Linked DNA regions of Homo sapiens: region 2 is linked to region 1. The links are contacts of gene promoters, found by promoter capture Hi-C in blood cells and fetal thymus (Javierre and others, 2016). All regions are on one chromosome and are shown on one strand. Each heading gives the region's core, a stretch centred on a gene start or on the middle of the fragment in contact. The rest is flanking DNA. Distances are from core to core; before and after follow the strand shown.

Evidence for each region. The method cuts DNA at HindIII sites, captures the fragments that hold promoters and counts their contacts. A CHiCAGO score of 5 or more calls a contact.
Region 2: a contact is called between the fragment with the promoter of TBC1D9 here and a fragment that was not itself captured in region 1, in 2 of 17 cell types (total B cells and monocytes). The highest score is 7.7, in total B cells.

What each region holds. Positions count from the first base shown.
Region 1 is chr4:139,558,206-139,562,072 of GRCh38, forward strand. No RefSeq gene overlaps it. Among named protein-coding and RNA genes, the nearest start is that of SETD7, 3.9 kb to the left of the region's middle. The HindIII fragment of the contact is 1,212 bases long and covers 1,507-2,718 here.
Region 2 is chr4:140,754,980-140,759,239 of GRCh38, forward strand. TBC1D9 (TBC1 domain family member 9) reads right to left here and starts at 1,406. Exons shown (of 21, transcript NM_015130.3): 1 at 937-1,406. The coding sequence starts at 1,066. RefSeq lists a silencer at 759-1,448 and enhancers at 1,104-1,746, 1,747-2,388, 1,879-1,928. The HindIII fragment of the contact is 6,603 bases long and covers 1-2,211 here.

The DNA of each region.
Region 1 (3,867 bases), core at 863-3,362:
TACATATCACCCCCTCCCTTGCATATTATACTGGTGCACTAAAACATACCAGATACTCGTCTTCCCCAGTTTCCAGTTGATTTTCAGGGTGAAAAACAATGCTGAAAGCTGAAGGAAGCAGCAAAAAGACTTTATTCTCTTACTCAAAGGCAGTGAGGCAGGGCTGGGAGGCTGGAAGAAATCTCTCAAGACGTACAGAAGACACAGTTTCATGGTGGGTGGGTACGTGTGGGAGTGAAGGAGAGGGGAGGAATCATGTTGCAAGTGTCCAACTGTCCCCTTGGTGCTGTGAGGTTTTCCCAGCCTGTACTAAGCACCCAAACTGTCAAGCGCTCCCTTTCTACCTACTACCTTGAGAACACCTGAAACCCTGCCTACGGCACCCCCCAACCCCGGCCCCCGCCGTCGGTGAAGCAGGGGTCCTCTGGACCTACAAGAGGCAGGGACAGGAAGGGAGCAGGGTCTTTCTAGCAAAGTCAGTAGTGATGCGGGGTCAAACTACAGAGAACCTTCACCAGATCTGCACATGAGGCAGGCAGCAGCAGGGACACAGTCCCATCCCTCTTCCCCCACCATTCATTCCTGCTGGCTCTGGGCCCAAAGCTGGGGCAAAATGTTTTTATGACTCTCTTAAGATCCACTTGTATCTTTACAAATCATGTTGTGTATGTTTCGAGTCTCCTTCTCTAGACGGACTGATTCTTATTTATGGTCCTAGAACACAACACAGTGCCTGGTACAGAATGTGGGTTAAGCATTGTCAGCAATGATTTTGCAGATAGGAATATTCTGTTTTATATAAACAGTGCTGAGGCTTTCTCACAGACTGGATTCTCCTCCTATGTTTTGGCAAAGTGCTTTGTTTCAGTTCAAATCTGAAGAGCATTTTTGAGTTGTTCTACTTTCCCACATCGACTGGCCCCAAATCTGCTTCCATCGCATTCTTTCCCACAGTTTTCTTCATTGAGAGCTGATTTCATAAACTCTCTTTCTACTTGGCTTTCCACCAGTTTCCCCTGTCGTACTCTGTCCCCACCAATGTGGTCATGGGCTAGAAAATCAATAAAACTCTTAATCACAAACAATGTGCAGCAGCAACAGCAGCAGCAGAAGTAGTGTGGCTCAGCTCCTAACTTGGCAGATCCCAGTGAGACAGAACAAGCTCTACCAGGGAGGAACGGGACCGCACAGGACATCCAACATCTAGGCTGGGTGAGACTTGCTTTCATGTTCACACTGAGAGTGACTTTTTTTTCCCTGTCTTTGGTCTTGAATCAGGAGGAGGGGTGACTTTTCTAAGCTGCTCTGGCTTAGTTTCCATTGCCTCCAAGGCTATATTCCTTCTCTTCATACCCAGCTTGGGAAACATAATTCCCTCTTCCATTGCAGCAAGCAGTCAAAATACTGAGTTAATTTTATTCATTCTACCACCCCTGTCTTTCCCTGGAGAAGGCTGGTGCTTACATACAAGACTGATATAACTTTTGCAATAAATATATTTTTACAAGCTTCTTGTATTTTATGCACCTTCCTACATTTAGGGGAAACAATTCTGTCAATTCGCTGCTATGCATGCTAAGCGAATTGTGAAACAAGTAGTGAATGTGGAACTTATGTGGGATTCACTACTGTTGGCTGTTACTGACTCCTCATCCTGCCCGCTGGCAGGGAGTGGAGGGGCCCAAGCAGTCTTCTGGGTCTCCATGTATTTGGGAGGGAGGAGCCTCTGAGACCTCAGCGGTAGGAAGTCGCATCAGAGCCTCTCCAGAAGCCCTGGTGGCTTTATGGTTGCTGGCCTGGCTCTGGTTTCCATCACTTGCTTACACCGCCAGCAGGATGACAAGGATAAAATTAGTGAAAGACCTTTTAAATAATCATCAAGTCTCGTTTTGGCACTGCTCACTCCTTCACAAGATTTTTTCCCACCAAATTAGCCAGTTTGATTGAGTTTTTGCTTTGTCTGTTTTGGTTCCACCAAGAACTAGCCAAGCAACTGGGCAATTCAGTTCTGCGGGGGCCGGGGGGGGGGCCTTCGTTTTCCCATCTGTAAATGAAGAGTTGGGCTACATAAATTCGAAGCTCAAACCTTCTCTGTCCACCTTTTCTGGAGAAAAGGTAAATAGAGCCTGAGAAGCCCCAGGAAAAGGCACATAAAAAGGAAATGGGAAGAAGCCAGGGCAACTCCAACAAACTGAATACTCAAGTCCTCTCACGTTAATGGCTCTATCTGGGCAGGCAGGTGAGGGGAGAACCTTTATCTTGACTCTAGGGAGGGAAGCATGGAAGTTTTAGGAGAACCAAGGTTCCTGGGTTCTGAATCACTGAGTCACTAATCAAGTGGCTAACTGTGTTAGTGACAACTGCAGAAGCTGGAGGGAGGGGCTGGGAGAGGAGCAGCGAGGAGGAGACGGGTGGGGGAGGAGATGGGGATGAAAGGGAAGCGTTTGCAGCTTGTGGAGCACTGGGAAGAGCAGGGACATCAAGGGCACCAAATAAAGGTCCAGGGAGCAAAGAAAGAAATGGAGAAAATTCATTCTGCTGGAAATAGACATGAGTGCAGTCAGGAAGAAGACTTACAGATTCAGGGTGACCTGATTTGATTACAGCAACAGGAAGTGCAAGAGAGAGAGGGCAGAATAACCTGACCTAAGGAAGTGAATTAAATAATAGAGAAGACACCACAGTTGCCATGGTATTAAAATACCTCATGCCACATTAAGCTTCCTCTTTCTCTTTTGCTTGATTCTTGTTTTTGCAACATGTTAATGTTGCAATGACATGTTAATGTCATTGCAGGGTATCCAGTAAACTAAATTTAGACTTTCTGGGGCGGGGAGGGGAGGGAAGATGCAGCCCAGATCTCCCTGTTTGGGTCGACTCTGGGCCAATATTGTTCCTTCACAGAGTTCTTGGGGTTTTTTGCATTATGGGATATGAAAACTCTTATGTCAGGCTTGGGCCTAGTGAAGCTGCTGAGTGAAATGATTGAAAAAAAAAAAATGAGGCCAGGCACGGTGGGTCACGCCTGTAATTCCAGCGCTTTGGGAGACAGAGGCAGGTGGATCACCTGAGGTCAGGAGTTCATGACCAGCCTGGCCAACATGGTGAAACCCTGTCTCTACTAAAAATACAAAAATTACAAAAATACAAAAACTGGTGGTGCATGCCTGTAGTCCCAGCTACTTGGGAGGCTGAGGAAGGAGAATCACTTGAACCTGGGAGGCGGAGGCTGCAATGAGCCGAGATGGCATCACTGCACTGCACTCCAGCCTGGGCCACGGAGTGAGACTCCATCTCAAAAAAACAAACAACAACAAAAAAAACCCTCACACACACACACACACACACAAAGAAAAATTGGAAATAGTTTTCAAAGGGGCATCTGTTTTAGAAATTACTTTAGAAAAACAATAGGATTGCAGAAACTTGAAAAATAAAGACAAACCGCCACCAAAACCAAATGTGTTTTCATAGATATTATTTTCTCTAATTGTTTTTGAAAAATTACTTTACTAGGCTAAAATTAAGATTATTGAGTCCTGCAATTGGTCCTCTGCAAAAGTAGACATTGCAGAGGGCAGGTACATGGTATACTCTTTTGACACTACAATATCCAGGATGGGCAGAGGAGTATTTCCAGCTGACCTATTTACCACAAATGTCATAACATTCATCAAGGGTCAGCTCTTGACCTTCCTCAAGTGGACTCACATTAACTAGACCCCGAGAGACTGAGATGTATGCCTGAATTATGATGGACAGATCAGAATACTCACACTGTCAGGGCAAAAGATCTCTCTATATAAATAAATGCACTTGAGAAGACAAATTCCATCCAAAAGTTTGCTTAGTTATCTGGAGTAGAAT
Region 2 (4,260 bases), core at 156-2,655, 1.2 Mb after region 1:
ATATGAGGTTGATATAAGCTCAACTCTGAGGAGGGTCAAAGTTCATCTCTTTTTTGCAGTCTCCTTTCTAGTGAAACCTCTACTATTTCTTCTGCTAACTTTTTCACTGTAAAAAGTATTCCAGTTCTGTTCATTCTAAATAACACAGAGATGGAGAAGGTCCAATTTCTCTAGTATGGTATGAGTTCGAGATTATTTCTAATATGGCACTACTTTGGATATGGGTCTGACTGATCTTATTATCCTGAATGATATGACATGGCTTCAGCAACAATTACAATAATACCTTGAAGGGAGGGGGTTTAGGGAAGAAGTGATTGAGCAAAAATAGTTAAAATGCAGTTATACAGCCAATTATTTTTACAACTAGAACCAGACAATTTGCTTTGCTTTATGTCTAATTAGGTGAAACAAAAAAATTCCTGTTTCCGTATTCATTCTCTTCGGTCATAACTCATATAGGAAATGACCACATCAGTTCCTTACTTATCGCTTCCCTGGAAACAAAAGAGCATTTTATACCTGATCCTGCTGTTGCCAGTAAAGAAAGTGGAGCAAAAATTAACCTTCTTCCATCCCTCTTTTCCATTTGGAAAACAATATTTTTAAGGGGGGGAGGGGAAGGGAATGATGCATTCAATATATAGGGGATAATACATTCCCTCCGCCCCAGACTCACTCTTTCCCATTCTCCTCAACATATCCACTTAAAGAGCGCTCAGTACGCTGAGGGCCCCAAGCCTGACAGAGTCAAAAAAAGAAGCATCTCTGCCCAACCTGAACATCACGACTCTCGATGCCTCGCATACAACGAGGCAGGGCGGGTCGCCCAGCCCCAGGGGACCGGGCGGCGTCTCCCGAGCCTGCAGCCCAGGCCGCGGGCGGCGCCGCAGCGCTCCCGGCTCCCCTCCTGCAGGGATCGGCCACGGTCCTTACCCGCCAGTCCGCCGCCGCCGCCTCCATCGCCGGCGTGGCCCTTCCTCCGCTGCAGGATGAAGTATGGGTTGGCCCTCTCGGTGATCCACAGCGCGTTGGCCAGCAACACCTCCTCCGGGTTCACCCACATGGTCCTGGCTGCCGCGGGCGGGCGCACAATGGGCCCGTGGGTCCAGTCCTGCACCCACCACCGCGACAGGCGCGCACTCCTGGGCACACGCGCGCCCGCCCGCCCGTCCGCTAGGTGCGGCGGCGGCGGCGGCAGGCGACTTCAGGGGGTGGCCCGCGGCGTCCGGGCCACAACAAAGCCCCAGCAGGCGGCCCGGGAGGACGGTGAGGACGCGGGCGCGGCAAGCAGCATCCTCCCCGCGGCGTCGCCGCCCCGCGAGAGCCCGCGGCCGCAGACGCCCGGCCTGGCACTCTGCAGCCCGGCTCCCGGCCCACGGCGGCGGGAGGAGCGGGAGGAGGAGGAAGAGGAGGAGGAAGGGAGCGGGAGGAGGAGGAAGTGGTATAGCTCAGTCCCGGGATCCGGCTCAGCGCCAGGCAGGGCTAAGGGCCACCCGAGCGGATTCGGCCCCGCGGTCAGGGCCAAGCTGGGCTCCGGCGCTGCTGCTCCCGCGGCGCCGACTGGAGCTCCAGAGCCCCTCCCGTCTCTACCTGCTCGAGCTCCCGAAGTCGCCGCGCCTTAACGCGCCGTGTCGGGGCCGCAGGCGCCACTAGGGAAGCCCAGCTCCCCGCTGGAAGGACGCTCCGGACACTGCGAATGAATGACGACAACGCGGCTCACTTGGAGCGGGTCCGGGTTTGTGCGGACTCGGTACCACCGCGGGCTCCGCGCGCCGAGCTGAGCAGCTGTGGCTGGCTTCGGGGGAACCTTCGGGGGAAGCTCCTGGGGACCGTGTGCCAAGCACTGGGCCCGACGCCCATCCCAGCAGGGAGGACGCCGCCAGCCTGCGTGGGTGCGTGTGTGCTGTTTGTGTTTAAGGTTGACGCTCTATGGGATAGCGCCACCCCTTTTCCCAGGAAAAGTGTTTCAAGGTTCCAGACCTGGAGCTCGGTTAGAGACCCGGGGTCGGAAGCCAACGCAGCCAATGGTCGTCGATGTTTTTGTTTCCTGCATCCCCAGGGCAAGTCATGCGCTAAACTTGTCACCGCTTGTGACCCCTCCCCCCTCTCCATTCCATTGTAATTAAAGTGGCCTAGCTAAGTGCATTACATCACTTCTTTCCTTGACCTGTAGGGCGTGAGCAATAGAGAAGTTGGAAGCGGCCCAAAAGCTTAGACCAACTAATTCACACCACAGCTGTTCCTATATCGCATTTGGGGCTTCGAAAACTGGGCATGGCAGAATTTTAAAATTTATCCACTCTTGGTAGATGGATTTTTTTTTTAATCAGTGAAACCAGAAACACACAAACCAGGGCAGCTTTATCCCTAGACAGTTTCAGTTTCCCCAAATACTTCGAGCTTCCAGTGGTGATCACAGCCCATCTGCCTACATATCTGATGACCATTTTTTTTTCCTCCCGCCCAGGAGATCTGGAGGATAGTTCAGCCAAAAAAAAAAAAAAAAAAAAAAAAAAAAAAGTTCCTCTTCCCAAATGATGGGAATTTAGCAGACTCTGCTTTGTTGTGGATGCTGGGCAATCCTAGGGACTTTTCCCTTTCCAAATGAGCAGAGATTCAAATGAAACCTTCTTGTGTGGGCTTCAAAATTGTGACTTTTGTAGCTCCGACTTGAATTGTTGAATTCCTTCAATTAGTCGAATGAGCAAATCACCAGCCATTCTAATGAGACTGCCATTTCATCTGTTCGCTTCCTACCGCTTGGGCTCTCAAGGAATGGAAGTTTCCCTTGATGTTACCACACAGACTGATCTGCTTCTTCCAGGCATCAGTGGAAACCTCATGTATTTAACACAGACTCAAAAAACTCATTTGGCACTTTTGGTCACAGTGCAGTGCCTTCAGTCACAAAATCTGCAAATAAAAAGCAAACAATAAGATTATAAGTCATACATATGCAAAAATTATATTAATATATCATGTAACTTTTATATTTTTGAAGTGTTTCCATAGGTATTCTTTTACTTGATATAATTGGTATTTTTAAAAACTCTAAGTGCCTTAATACCATGTTGGGGTTTGGAAAATGATACCACAAAGCATGGTGCTTTGGCATGCTGAGTACTTTGAACTAAAGGAGATTGAAAGGCCTCAGAAGCAGTTTCTCTCTGACCTCCTTCTGCCCTCCTGTCTCCCACCTCTCTTTCTCCCCCAAAGTGAGTCATGGAAACTAAAGGCAGGTCATAGAAACTAAAACCCCTCTTCCCAAAGGAAGCTACAAAACCTAGAAATATTACCATTCCTCACTCTTCTGTGTAAGAGCAGACATAAAGAATAGAGAAATAAAGAAATTATCTACCCTACCTTGTTGGATAGTAGGTCCCCTTTCCAAAGGAGTCCTGCTCTAAACCCAGGAGGAGGGAAAGCTATACGGAGAGGCCAAGAAGAATCTGAACAGACAGACTGGGTCTGTTCTCAGTCTATTACCATTGGATCTTACCCTTTTGTCCAACCACATCTACATGGCTGCCCACTCTTCATTGAACCTAAGCACAAAAATGGACAGAGCGAGACTCTCTCAAAAAAATAAACAGGCTGGGCATGGTGGCTCATGCCTGCAACCCCAGCATTTTGGTAGGCAGAGCCAGGAGGACCCCATCTGTATTAAACCAGAGAGACCCCATCTCTATTAAAAAAAAATAGACAGGTTTCCCTGGGTTTTTCCGTCTTCATTTCTGAAGGTTCCCATGTCACCTAAAACTTTGATTAAACAAATGTGTTGTGCTTTTCTCTTGTTAGCCTGTCTTTTGTTATAGGTGTGTTGGCTATGACCCTTATGGGAAGGAAAGATATCACACCTTTTCCCCTACAACAATCTTTTGTTTTTGTTTTGTTTGAGACAAAGTCTCGCTCTGTCACCTAGGCTGGAGTGCAGTGGCACGATCTCAGCTCACTGTAACCTTCACCTCCCAGTTCAAGTGATTCTCCCACCTCAGCCTCCTGAGTAGCTGGGACTACAGGTGTGAGCCACGACGCCCAGCTAATTGTTGTATTTTTAGGAGAGACGGGGTTTCACCACGTTGGCCAGGCTGGTCTTGAACTCCTGACCTCAAGTGATCCGCCCGCCTTGGGGCCTCCCAAAGTGCCAGAAGCCACCATGCCCGGCCTACAACAATCTTTTGGCTTGCCCTTGGCATGCTGCTTAAGGTTGTGGTTTCACACCAAAACCTATACCCTAGCCCCAAAATGTAAGTTACT